Regions from separate parts of the Homo sapiens genome. Here all the other regions are linked to region 1. The links are contacts of gene promoters, found by promoter capture Hi-C in human tissues and cell types (Jung and others, 2019). All regions are on one chromosome and are shown on one strand. Each heading gives the region's core, a stretch centred on a gene start or on the middle of the fragment in contact. The rest is flanking DNA. Distances are from core to core; before and after follow the strand shown. Region 1 holds the start of MFNG (MFNG O-fucosylpeptide 3-beta-N-acetylglucosaminyltransferase). Region 2 overlaps IL2RB-AS1 (IL2RB and C1QTNF6 antisense RNA 1). Region 3 holds the start of GCAT (glycine C-acetyltransferase). Region 4 has its middle 7.3 kb from the start of IL2RB.

Evidence for each region. The method cuts DNA at HindIII sites, captures the fragments that hold promoters and counts their contacts. A contact is called where the count stands out against the background at its distance.
Region 2: a fragment that was not itself captured here is called in contact with the fragment with the promoter of MFNG in region 1 in 2 of the 25 tissues and cell types used here (lymphoblastoid cells and mesendoderm cells).
Region 3: the fragment with the promoter of GCAT here is called in contact with the fragment with the promoter of MFNG in region 1 in 2 of the 25 tissues and cell types used here (aorta and thymus).
Region 4: a fragment that was not itself captured here is called in contact with the fragment with the promoter of MFNG in region 1 in 4 of the 25 tissues and cell types used here (dorsolateral prefrontal cortex, lymphoblastoid cells, mesenchymal stem cells and 1 more).

The regions. Positions count from the first base shown.
Region 1 is chr22:37,484,969-37,487,668 of GRCh38, forward strand. MFNG (MFNG O-fucosylpeptide 3-beta-N-acetylglucosaminyltransferase) reads right to left here and starts at 1,416. Exons shown (of 8, transcript NM_002405.4): 1 at 955-1,416. The coding sequence starts at 1,209. RefSeq lists enhancers at 301-360, 761-810, 1,287-1,796, 1,797-2,308, 2,309-2,700 and 1 more and a silencer at 1,381-1,510. The HindIII fragment of the contact is 15,221 bases long and covers 1-2,700 here.
Region 2 is chr22:37,177,295-37,179,994 of GRCh38, forward strand. All of the region lies in intron 1 of IL2RB-AS1 (IL2RB and C1QTNF6 antisense RNA 1), which reads left to right. Among named protein-coding and RNA genes, the nearest start is that of C1QTNF6, 9.6 kb to the right of the region's middle. RefSeq lists an enhancer at 2,332-2,700. The HindIII fragment of the contact is 3,359 bases long and covers 1-2,700 here.
Region 3 is chr22:37,806,671-37,809,370 of GRCh38, forward strand. GCAT (glycine C-acetyltransferase) reads left to right here and starts at 1,264. Exons shown (of 9, transcript NM_014291.4): 1 at 1,264-1,493. The coding sequence starts at 1,298. It overlaps H1-0 (H1.0 linker histone), which reads left to right. Exons shown (of 1, transcript NM_005318.4): 1 at 1-762. RefSeq lists a silencer at 1,079-1,368. The HindIII fragment of the contact is 28,064 bases long and covers 1-2,700 here.
Region 4 is chr22:37,155,867-37,158,566 of GRCh38, forward strand. It overlaps a transcript of IL2RB not described here. Among named protein-coding and RNA genes, the nearest start is that of IL2RB, 7.3 kb to the left of the region's middle. The HindIII fragment of the contact is 5,288 bases long and covers 1-2,700 here.

The DNA of each region.
Region 1 (2,700 bases), core at 166-2,665:
CGATGTGTGTGTGTGTGTGTGTGTGTGTGTACCCATTCTCCACCTCCCCCATCAACGGTCCCTAACACCGACATCACTAACTTTGCTTAAGGAAGATACTGGATGCGAGGAGGGAAAGGGCTGGAAGGGACTTGGCTCGCCGGAGCCGCACAGCCATGTGACAGACATGCCTCTTGTCACACACATCTAGCACACTCCAGCTCCGTGCGTGTGAGCACACACACACACACACACACAATCCCACGTGCCAGGCAGGCCTCCCCAACCTCCGGCCCACCACTGCCTCAGCCGCCACCCTCGTGGCATGCGCTCTCCTTCCCTCCCTCGGAAGCAGTCCGCAGGAAGCCAACACAGGAGGCCAGACATGGCGGCCTCGGCACACCCGGGGCAGCAGAGACACAGCGGCAGGGGCTATCGGGAAGGCCGAAGGGATGCCTCCCCCAAGAACAGACCCCACCATTCTCCTCCCGTCCTCCACCCTCAGAGCCCGGGCAGGACAGCACCTAGGGCCTGGGTGGGACAGCCTGGCCTGGGCACGGGTCTGGGTCAGGACCTCTTGGAGGCCTCCACCCCAGCTGCCCAACACCCACCATTACCCCTGATGCCAGGCTGGGCCTGGGTGGCTAGGAGCGAAGCCCCCACGGGAGCGGCTAGGAATAGAAGAACCCCCAGGAGGGACCCGGGAGCCTGGAGCAGGGGCCCAGCCTGGCCCCCAAAAGTGGTGGAGCGGTAGGACCTGGGTGCACCTGGAGTCAGGACCAGTACAGGGCACGGGCAGGGCCGCAGGCAGCCCCTAAAGCCCGGAAGAAGGAGAGAGGAAGAGGATCCCTGATTAGGCAGGTATTGAGCAGCTTCTCCCATGAGGCAGTCAGGGACCCCAGCCCAGTAGAAAGGCCTCTGAGAACCCCTTAGGCCAGGGGCCACCCCCAGGGCCCAATGTCACCCACTTGTCACCTGTTCCCTGGTCCTGGAAACCCACGTGTCAAGCAGCAGCTCCAGGCGCAAGCGGTGGAAAGCCCGGGTCGTCTTCACTGCAATGAAGACATCGTGTAGCTGTAGCTTAGGGGGCCCCGGGTTCGGCTGGCTCAGCTCGGGGGTCCCTTGTACCCGCTGCGGGGACAGGTTCAAGTGGTACCGCAGACACAGGAGCCCCATGCACAGGAGGGTGAGGAGGGCTCCAGCCAGGCCCCGCGGGAGCCGGCACTGCATTGGTTGGCCCTGGGACCCCAGACAGCTCAGCCCCCAAATCCCAACCAGACAGGGAGGGGAAGCTGGTCAGGCAGGGGCTCCAGCAGAGGCAAAAGTCTGGCAGGCATCAGGGGCTGGCAAGGAGGGAAGAGGTAGGAGCTGAGGCTCTGGACCCAGAGGCTGAGCCATGGCAGCACGATCTCGACCGCCGCCAGTCCTCCACCTGCTCCCGCTGTCCGGCCTGCCGCAGCCTCCGGGACCGCCTGGCCCCGCCCCGCTTAGCCCGAGGGGCGGGGCCAGACGAAGGGAACCCCAGACAGAGGCGGCTGAAAGGAGGCACCAGCAGAAAGGGCAGCCCCGGCTCTGCCAGCTGCTGCGGTGGGAGGAAGTCACAACAAACCCTCCGTGCCCGGTGGAAGGGAGTGTCCTCCAGCACCGTCCACTCCCCCAGAGAGCTGTCAGCTCGGCCCATTCAACACCCATTACTTTGGTGTCCTGCTTCACCCAGCCCCCAGCTTTTGCTCACAGGTTTCCTCCGGGATGCTCTCCCATATTCCACCAGCCTCACCCACATTCCCTCCACTAGGCTGAGTTCTATCTGGACTTCAAAGCTTAAGGGTTCCCTCCTCCAGGAAGCCTTCCGTGATAACCTCTTAACCTCTGGGGCTCCCACAGTTGTTCGCTCAGTTCCTGAGGTCTTCACAACAGCACTGGGACTGTCGTTCCCAGTTTATAGCTGAAGACATAAGGCACAAAGGCACAGAATGAGCAAAAACGATCCAGCAACTCAGCCGCAGAGCTGGCAGAACCCAGGTCTCTGTTCCTCATCTAGTTCACAGGAGGTCCCCTGAGGGCACCTGTCCAGCTGTGCCCCAGCCCATACCCGACCTCACTCCGCAGTCTCTGGAGCTGCCTCTCTCCCAGCACCTGACCAGTGGACAGACAGAGGGCCTTCTCCAGCCACCACCTCCATCTTGTTTCGCACAAGCTCACTCACACCTCCTCCCTCCTCCACTCAGAGCCTGCACTGGCTCCCATTTTCTTCAGAACAAAAGCCAAAACGCACACAGCAGCCCACAAGGCCCTGCGTGAGCTGGCTCCCAAGTTACTCCCACCCCATCTCCTGCTACTCACCCTGCTCCACTCCAGAACCTGGGACCCTCGCTGGCCCAGGCACCTGGCCGCCACAGGACCTTGGCACTTGCTGTTCCCACCTGGGCCCCTCCCTAGAGACCTGCACGTCTCACTCCCCCACTCCCTTCTGGTCTTTACACAAAGGTCACCGTCTCTGTGAGGCCTTCCCTGACCACGTTATTAACATTGCAACCCCTCGCCGCCTCCTTCCCAGCCCCCCAGGCCTGTCCCTCTCAAGCCACTTCACTGTTTTCTTCATCACACTTTTCATCTTCCAACATTCTGTATGTTTAACTAAGTTTCTGTCCTCCTCATGAGAATATCAGGGCAGGATTTATTTTTTGATCACTGAGTCCCTAATCCCCAGTGCCTAGAACA
Region 2 (2,700 bases), core at 200-2,699, 310 kb before region 1:
GGCTAAACGATTTACCCAGCACCCTCCAGTCCTCCAGCCAAACAAGGGACTCTCCTGGGCAGAGCTGCCACAGGAGCCCACCTCCTGGCACCCCGGCCTGCTGGCTTCCCACTGGCTAACGAAAGCCTTGTGGGAGAAACACCCTGGTAGACCCTTAATCCAAGCTGGACCCCGTCCCCCCAACAACCCCCAGCTGCCCTCCTGCCTCCTCTCTGCTGTTGAATCTCTCACCAACTTCAAAGTCAATTGGGGACATGCCTCCCCCTCCAGGATGACATCATGATTCACCCAGTTTCTAGGCGTTCTATGTCCTCCCCTGGACCATGGCACAGGCCCCCTCACTGCCTCCAGCTTCACCCTCTGCAGCCTGTGCTCCACCTGGCTGCAGAGTGATCTGCCTCTTAAAGGCACCCCAGCACCTAAGAAAGAGGTCAATCCTAGACTTAGCCTGACATTCCAGGCCTTTCCTGTCTCAAACCCCATTCTGCTCTCCTTGCCTCCTTTCCAGACATCTATCCAACCTACTGGTCTCTCCCACTGCCCAGAGCATAGACTACATTGGTCCGCCTGCAACCCTTTCCTCTCATCAGCTCCTTGCCCCATGTCAAGTGCCTTTGAGACTCCTATTCACCCTCCAAGGCCCTTCCCACATGTCCCCTCCACTAAGAAGCCTTCCCAGATCGCCACATAAGAATTATCTACTCCCTTCCCCACACTCCCATGTGGCAGAGGAGCTCCTGCGCTCATCTCCCCAGGAAGGCTGAACACTTCCAGACACAACCTAACCTAGCCCATGAAATGGATCCAGCCCATCTATCCAGACAGCAGGTCACCAGGGACACCATCAAGCTAAAATCCCTGCACCAGCTCTGCCCCTGATTTTAACTCAGGCTCCCATCTAATCACCCTTTCCCCCTTAATCTTCCCTGCACTTGCCCCGGGCCACTCAACAAAACGATGGCAAGGTGGGGGTGAGGTCGCCCTGTCTGGGGTACACTCCTTGTCAGGGGTATTTTTCATTTCCCACGGCTGCTTCCCCTCTTGACCACCCTTTCCTTCCCCTTCCTCATTGCCTAACGTTTCAGGCGGAAAACGTTTTCAAAATATGTAACTTAAAGGGATTGCCCCAGAGGTGATTACATGGGCATTCAGCCAGCTTGCTGAGGTCATCAGTACTAAGCATGGCAGATCTCCTGGGGGACGCTGTGCCCCACAGACCTGGCAGCAGGATTGGGGGCCTCCAGTTTCCCAGGACCTTTGACCAACCCCCGCCAAGAACGTGCCCATTGGGAGAAGCTTGTCACAAAGATCTAGTGGCTCTTAGCACCCATCCGGGTGCCATTGAGTCAGAAACCCAGACCTAGCGCAAAAAAACCTGGCCTAGACAGTCCAGAGGCCACATCTGAGCCCTGGGTGGAGGAATGTGTGCAGTGGGTCAGATGGGATGACACAAAGACAGCCGGCCTCTGTTCCCTGAACTAATGTGGCCTGGAACTGTCTGGGGGACTTGGCTTCAGTTTACAAAGGATAAGCTTCAATCCTCCTGCAGGCACTTGGCAAGAAGTTTCAAAGCTTTGCTGCCTCAGCGATCAGCAAATGGCTCATCCTTGTGCTGTACACGACAAAAGGCTCCTGGCTGGCACTCAGGACAGCCTTTGTCCCAAGGCTGGTGAGGCCGATTGTGTACAAATAGAGCCTGGCCCAGAAACACGCTGGAGATCGCTCCCCGGGGTAGCCTCTGACATGGGAGGAGCCTCTTTGGCAAGAGCTGTATGACCCTGAGGTGCAGTGGGAAGCCTCCCTTCAGTGTCAGGGGACCTCCGAGGAAACGGAGACCTGTCTGCCCCTGCAAGGTGGGCTGCTGGGCTGGGCTGAATCCTGGCACAGGTGTATGGTCAGTTCTCGATAGCATGCTTCTTCCACCTGGTGCCCAAAAGCCATGCAACACACCAGGGACAACACAGATAGAGCAGGATGCCCGGTCAAGTCTGTTGGGAAATCAGCGTCGGTCACTTTAAATATACTTATGTGAGTAGCCACCAGGCTAGCCTAGAGAGTCCAAACTTGACGACATATTAGAAAGCCAGGCCGGGCACGGTGGCTCACGCCTGTAATCCCGGCACTTTGTGAGGCCGAGGTGGGCAGATCACAAGGTCAGGAGTTCAAGACCAGCCTGGCCAACATGGTGAAACCCCCATCTCTACTAAAAATACAAAAATTAGCTGGGCGTGGTGGTGGGCGCCTGTAATCCCAGCTACTCGGGAGGCTGAGGCAAGAGAATCACTTGAACCTGGGAGGTAGCGGTTGCAGAGAGCCAAGATTGCGCCACTGTACTCCAACCTGGGTGACAGAGAGACTCCATCTCAAAAAAAAAAGAAAGCCAGATCCATCAAGATGCTCCACTGTACAATGTAGTAGTGTGTGTTTTCCCACAGAGAAGATCCAACAGTTCTCTCATCATAATTAAACGCAAAACATGCGACAGGGTCCCCGGGGCGGGAGGTGGGGGGGCTTGCGTGTGCCTCACTGGAGCATAAACGGCACAGGTGCTCAGCTCTGCGCCACACAGTTGGCGCTCAGCAGATGCTGAGCATGAACGCGGCACTCATCAAGCAACCTGGCATCTGATCCTTATGTCCACCGCATGAGGTAGATTACCATTGTCCCCATTTTACAGACAGGAAACCGAGGCGCAGAGAT
Region 3 (2,700 bases), core at 14-2,513, 320 kb after region 1:
CAGTGGTGAGCAGTGGGGGCCCAAACCCAGTTTCCTTCTCATTTTTGTTAGTTTGCGCTTTCGGCCTCCCTATTTTCTTAGGGAAGGGGAGTGGGGTCCAAGTGACAGCTGGATGGGAGAAGCCATAGTTTCTCCCAGTCAGCTAGGATGTAGCCATTGGGGGATCTTTGTGGCTTCAGCAAATTCTCTTGTTAAACCGGAGTGAAAACTTCAGGGGAAGGGTGGGGAGTCAGCCAAGTGCCTCAGTGTGCCCTGTTGAAACTTAGGTTTTTCCACGCAATCGATGGATTGTGTCCTAGGAAGACTTTTCTTTTCCTCTGGATTTTTGTTCCTCCTGTACAAGAGGTGTCTTTGCTTGGTTTGGTGGGGCTGCGGCCACTTAAAACCTCCCGATCTCTTTTTGAGTCCTTTATTATAAGTAGTTGTAGCTGCGGGAGGGGGAGGGGGAGTGGGCGGGCAGTGGATAGTAAGACTTACTGCAGTCGATTTGGGATTTGCTAAGTAGTTTTACAGAGCTAGATCTGTGTGCATGTGTGTGTTTGTGTATATATACATATCTAGGGCTAGTACTTAGTTTCACACCCGGGAGCTGGGAGAAAAAACCTGTACAGTTGTCTTTCTCTTATTTTTAATAAAATAGAAAAATCGCGCACTTGCGCGTCCCCCCCCCACCCCCTTTTTTAAACAAGTGTTACTTGTGCCGGGAAAATTTTGCTGTCTTTGTAATTTTAAAACTTTAAAATAAATTGGAAAAGGGAGAAACTGAGCGGTGTATTTTTCCTCACTTTGAAGACTGGAGAATGAATGCGGAGCGGTTAGGCGGGCAGGCAGTGGGGACATCTGGGGCGTTTGCACCTGAGAATGGCGGGGGAGGGTTCAGGAGCTGGACAGAAGCCAGGAATCCTTAGTCCCGGAGGCTGCGGAACGTGCCTTAGCCGGCTTCTAGGCTTCTGCCTTTGGGGTCCAGAGGGTACCCCATTTCCGGCCGAGAGGTGAGTACGTGGGAATGCGGTGGGGAGTCTGGTGGGCTTGGCCCTGACGCGACTTCCTCCGCCCCCTTCCCTCCCCTCTGCCATCCGGACTTCGGCAGTCTCAACTTACAAGTCAAGCCTCTCGGTCCCTGGCGGATCCCGCCAGGCCCCGCCCACCCGTCCTAGGCCCGCCTCCCCGCCTTTTTAAGCGAGCCCCCCTAGCTCCGATTGGCTGCTGGAGCCCGGCCCCCGGCCACGCGACCAGGCTGCGTCCGCGATGCGCACGGCTCCCAGGCAGGCAGGCGCGCTCGGGCGAGGTAGGAGCGATGTGGCCTGGGAACGCCTGGCGCGCCGCACTCTTCTGGGTGCCCCGCGGCCGCCGCGCACAGTCAGCGCTGGCCCAGCTGCGTGGCATTCTGGAGGGGGAGCTGGAAGGCATCCGCGGAGCTGGCACTTGGAAGAGTGAGCGGGTCATCACGTCCCGTCAGGGGCCGCACATCCGCGTGGACGGCGTCTCCGGAGGTAACGCTCCGTTCCGGGAGTCGTTCCAAGACCTTTCCCGAGCTTGCGCTGGAATGGAGGTCCTGGAGGTGGGGGTGGGCGGCTCCTACACTCTTAGCTACTGTTCCCCTTCGCATCTCTCAGGGCGACTTTATGGCTTCCTAATATTGACTCTTGCCTGGTTAAACCCTTTTGACGGAGGGAGGCGATTTGCCCAGCAAGAAAACCCGCATTTCTTGAGCGGCTCCTTTGTGAAGGTCTCTACCAATTGTTGCTGCACGTGAACTCCTGCTAACTTCTAGACGCAGGAATGACTAATTCCACTTTACAAACGAAGAGGCTGAAATCCACAGATGTGAAATGGCTTGCCCAAAAGCCCCCAGCTAGCTGCAGGCAGCGCTGGAATATTGGAGCTGGAACATTGCCTGACTGGCCAGAGAGGACAGCTTGCTGGGTAAACTCATAGCAAGCAAGGGGTCCCAGGGCTGCCACAGAAATCACATGATGAGTTGGCCCTGCCAGGTCTCCCTCATTTCTTTCTTTCCTTTTTTTTTTCTGAGATGGAGTCTCGTCTTGCTCTGTCGCCCAGGCTGGAGTGCAGTGGCGAGATCTCGGTTCACTGCAACCTCTGCCTCCCGGGTTCAAGCGATTTTCATGCCTCAGCCTCCCAAGTAGCTGGGACTACAGGCACGTGCCAGCACACCCGGCTAATTTTTGTATTTTTAGTGGAGACTGGGTTTCACCATGTTGGCCAGGCTGGTCTCGAACTCCTGACCTCAAGTGATCCTCCCGCCTCAGCCTCCCAAAGTGTTGGGATTACAGGCGTGAGCCACCACTCCCAGCCCTCCCTCATTTCACTCTAACCAGTGGTTACACCTGACTTATTCGTGTCAGGCCTCAGGTGAGTGGTAATCATCAACAAGCTCCCAAAGCTGCCTTCTGCCCAGGAAATAGGCATAGAACCCTTGGTGCTGTTGCACTCATTTGTAAAACAGAGGTCCCAGGTAATCCCTTCTCTCCCTCAGGGGAAGCTTAGAGCCGGTCAAAAGATGGGAAATTAGGAGACCCAAGTTCTCATCCTGTTTTTGCCTTTCCCAGGCTGTGTGAACTTTCCCCTCTGGCTGTTTGCTCCTAAGGTCAGCTGTGTTCACTCTGGGCTTTAGAATTCGGGGACTGGTATCTCAGGCACCTACCTTTGGGGGTGTGATTCTGGCAGCAAAGTAAACTG
Region 4 (2,700 bases), core at 201-2,700, 330 kb before region 1:
CCGCCTCATACCCTCTGTTTCCATGCACCCAGTCCCACAGCCCTCCCACCACTGGACCCAGACCCCTCTTTCACAGGGGCCATGGGACAAGGGCATATTGGGGTCTTCCAGCCCTGATGTCCTTGGGCTGTCTTTTTTGGGGCCAAGCCAGACTGCATCCTCCTCAGTCCTGGTATCTGCCAAACGCCCTACCCGTCCTCCCTCTGCTCACTGGAGTGCTTGGCCCTTGCGCTCAGCCTCCCTCTCCACTCCGCCTCCCAGGAGATGTCAGGGTCCACACTGTAGCCTCCAGCCTCCTGTTCCCTCTGAACTGCTCCATACCAGTCCCACACCCAGGCCTGCACTTGCACCCTGCCATCATTCTGACCTGTGTTAACCAAGACCCCTTGAACTTCCACCTCAGCTCACCCGCGTGCTGCCATCACCGCCTCCACTGTACAACAGTGTCCCAGTTAGGATGAAGTTCAGCTGCGTGTGTCCAAAGAGAACAGAAGAAGAAAACAGTGACCTAAAATAAGAGAGGGCTTTATTTCTCTCTTACATAAAAGAAGTCCAAAGGGAGGCCACCCAGGCTAGGTGGGGTGGCTTTATGATGTCAGGATCCTGAGCTAAATCTGGCTTGCTACTAGGGTCTCTTCAATATCCTTCTCCCATCTCCTCATAGACCAAGAGAGCTATTCAAGCTCCACCCATCACCTCTGCGTTCCTGCAGATGGAAGGGAAAGGAAGGAGAGAGGGAGGGCTTGCCTCTGCCTGTTAAGGACCCTTCCCCAAAGCTGCCGTAGCCACTTCTAATGTACATCCCATTGGCTACGCCTGAGTCACATAGCCAACCAAGCTGCAGAGGAGGCTGGGAGATGTAGCCAGCTATAAGTAGAGGGCACACGGGCAGGGGAGAGCAGGTTTGGGGGTGCCATTCACTGTCTCTGCCACCGCCTGTCCTCTGCCATTGTGAAGACCTCCAGTATCTCCAGGGCCACCTCCCTTCCTGCCCTCCCTGGCTCAGCCAGCTGACACTGTCACCCACCCTCAAGTCCTTGTGTTCCGCCCACCCCTGCTCGGTGCTGTGACCTGTCTTCTGGAAAGTCAGCAGGTAGCCGAGTCCCCAGCTGGAAAAAAAGTCCTGCCCCCACAGTGCCAGGCCTCACCAGTGACCTGGTTTTGAGTCCTGGTCCCTGGTCAGGAGGACTATGGTATACATAATTTGGTGTCTGACCCTCCGCCCAGTCCCCATCAGACTGTGGGGTACCCCTCATGACAAATGAGGATCACAAAGCTGCAGGGGCCCACAGAGGGGCCAGAGCAGAACAAGGAGAAAGAGCAGGCTAGCGGCCGACTTCCTGAGGGCTGTCCTCCGAGCATGCCCCTCTGCTGACACCTGCTCTTCACTGGAGGCGCCCCACCCACCAGTCCCCAAGACAGACTGTGGCCATTCTCCCTGACTCCTTCCCTCCCTCACCCCCTCCTTCCAAGCCATCACCCTTACTTCTGCTTTGCCACAGCAGCCACCTCCACGCCAGCCCCCCAGGCTCCAGACCTGAAGCCCCACGTTCTTCCCTGTTCATCCGGGAGCTGCCTGCTTCATAGCCACACCAGCACCAGCGCCCTGAGCAGCTCCTATCTTGTGCAAACCATGCCATTCCTTACCAGGATCGCGCCAAGGTGACCAGCTGTCCCACTGTGCCTGGGACTGAGGGGGGTTTCCAGAACATAAGATTTACAGTGATATTCCTAGGACAAAGTTGGTCACCATATTCCCACCCTACTTACTCAGACTAATCAGCTCCCCGATTTAAAACCAGTCCTTCCCTGATCTCCAATTCTGGCCAAGGCAGATTCTGGGCACAAGCCAGTTACCATATCTCATGTCAGAGCCTTGCTTATGAGTCTACACCAGGAGCTCTTGGACAACAGGAACAGTGTGGGATTCATCCACACCACTCCAGAACCCAGAAAATTACCTGACATACGGACAGTGTCAATATGAGGGGAAGGAAGGAAAAAAGGAAAAGAGAAAGAATCAAAAGTGCTAAGTCCCTAATACCCTGAAGAGTCCTGAGAATACACATTAAAAACACCAGGATAGCATATTTGAAGTTTCAAAAGCTTTGCCATCAAAGGCAGGTTGAAAAGGCGAGTCACCCTGCTGGCGTGGGCTTCAAGCATCTCCCTGGAAGGCAATCTGACATCTACCAACATCTCTGACACATGACCCAGCAATTCCACACCTAAAACTCATCAACAGAGTGACCCATGTTGAACACGTGTGTACAAAGTAACTCCTGCAGTCACGGGACCCGAGGCCAACAAAATGCGCATCCATAGGGGACAGGTGATGAGCAAATTAGGGAACTTCCATCCAGTGGAATGCCACGTAGCTATGCCAAGATAGGAAGGGGAGGGCTGGGCGCGGTGGCTTATGTCTGTAATCCCAGCACTTTGGCAGGCTGAGGCGGGCGGATCACGAGGTCAGGAGATCGAGACCAGCCTGGCCAACATGGCAAAACCACGTCTCTACCAAAAATAAAAATTAAAAAAAAATTAGCCGGGCGTGGTGGTGGGCACCCCGTAGTCCCAGCTATTCAGGAGGCTGAGGCAGAAGAATCACTTGAACCCGGGAGGCAGAGGTTGCAGTGAGCCAAGATTGCGCAACCGCACTCGAGCCTGGGTGACTGAGCAAGACTCCGTCTAAAAAAAATA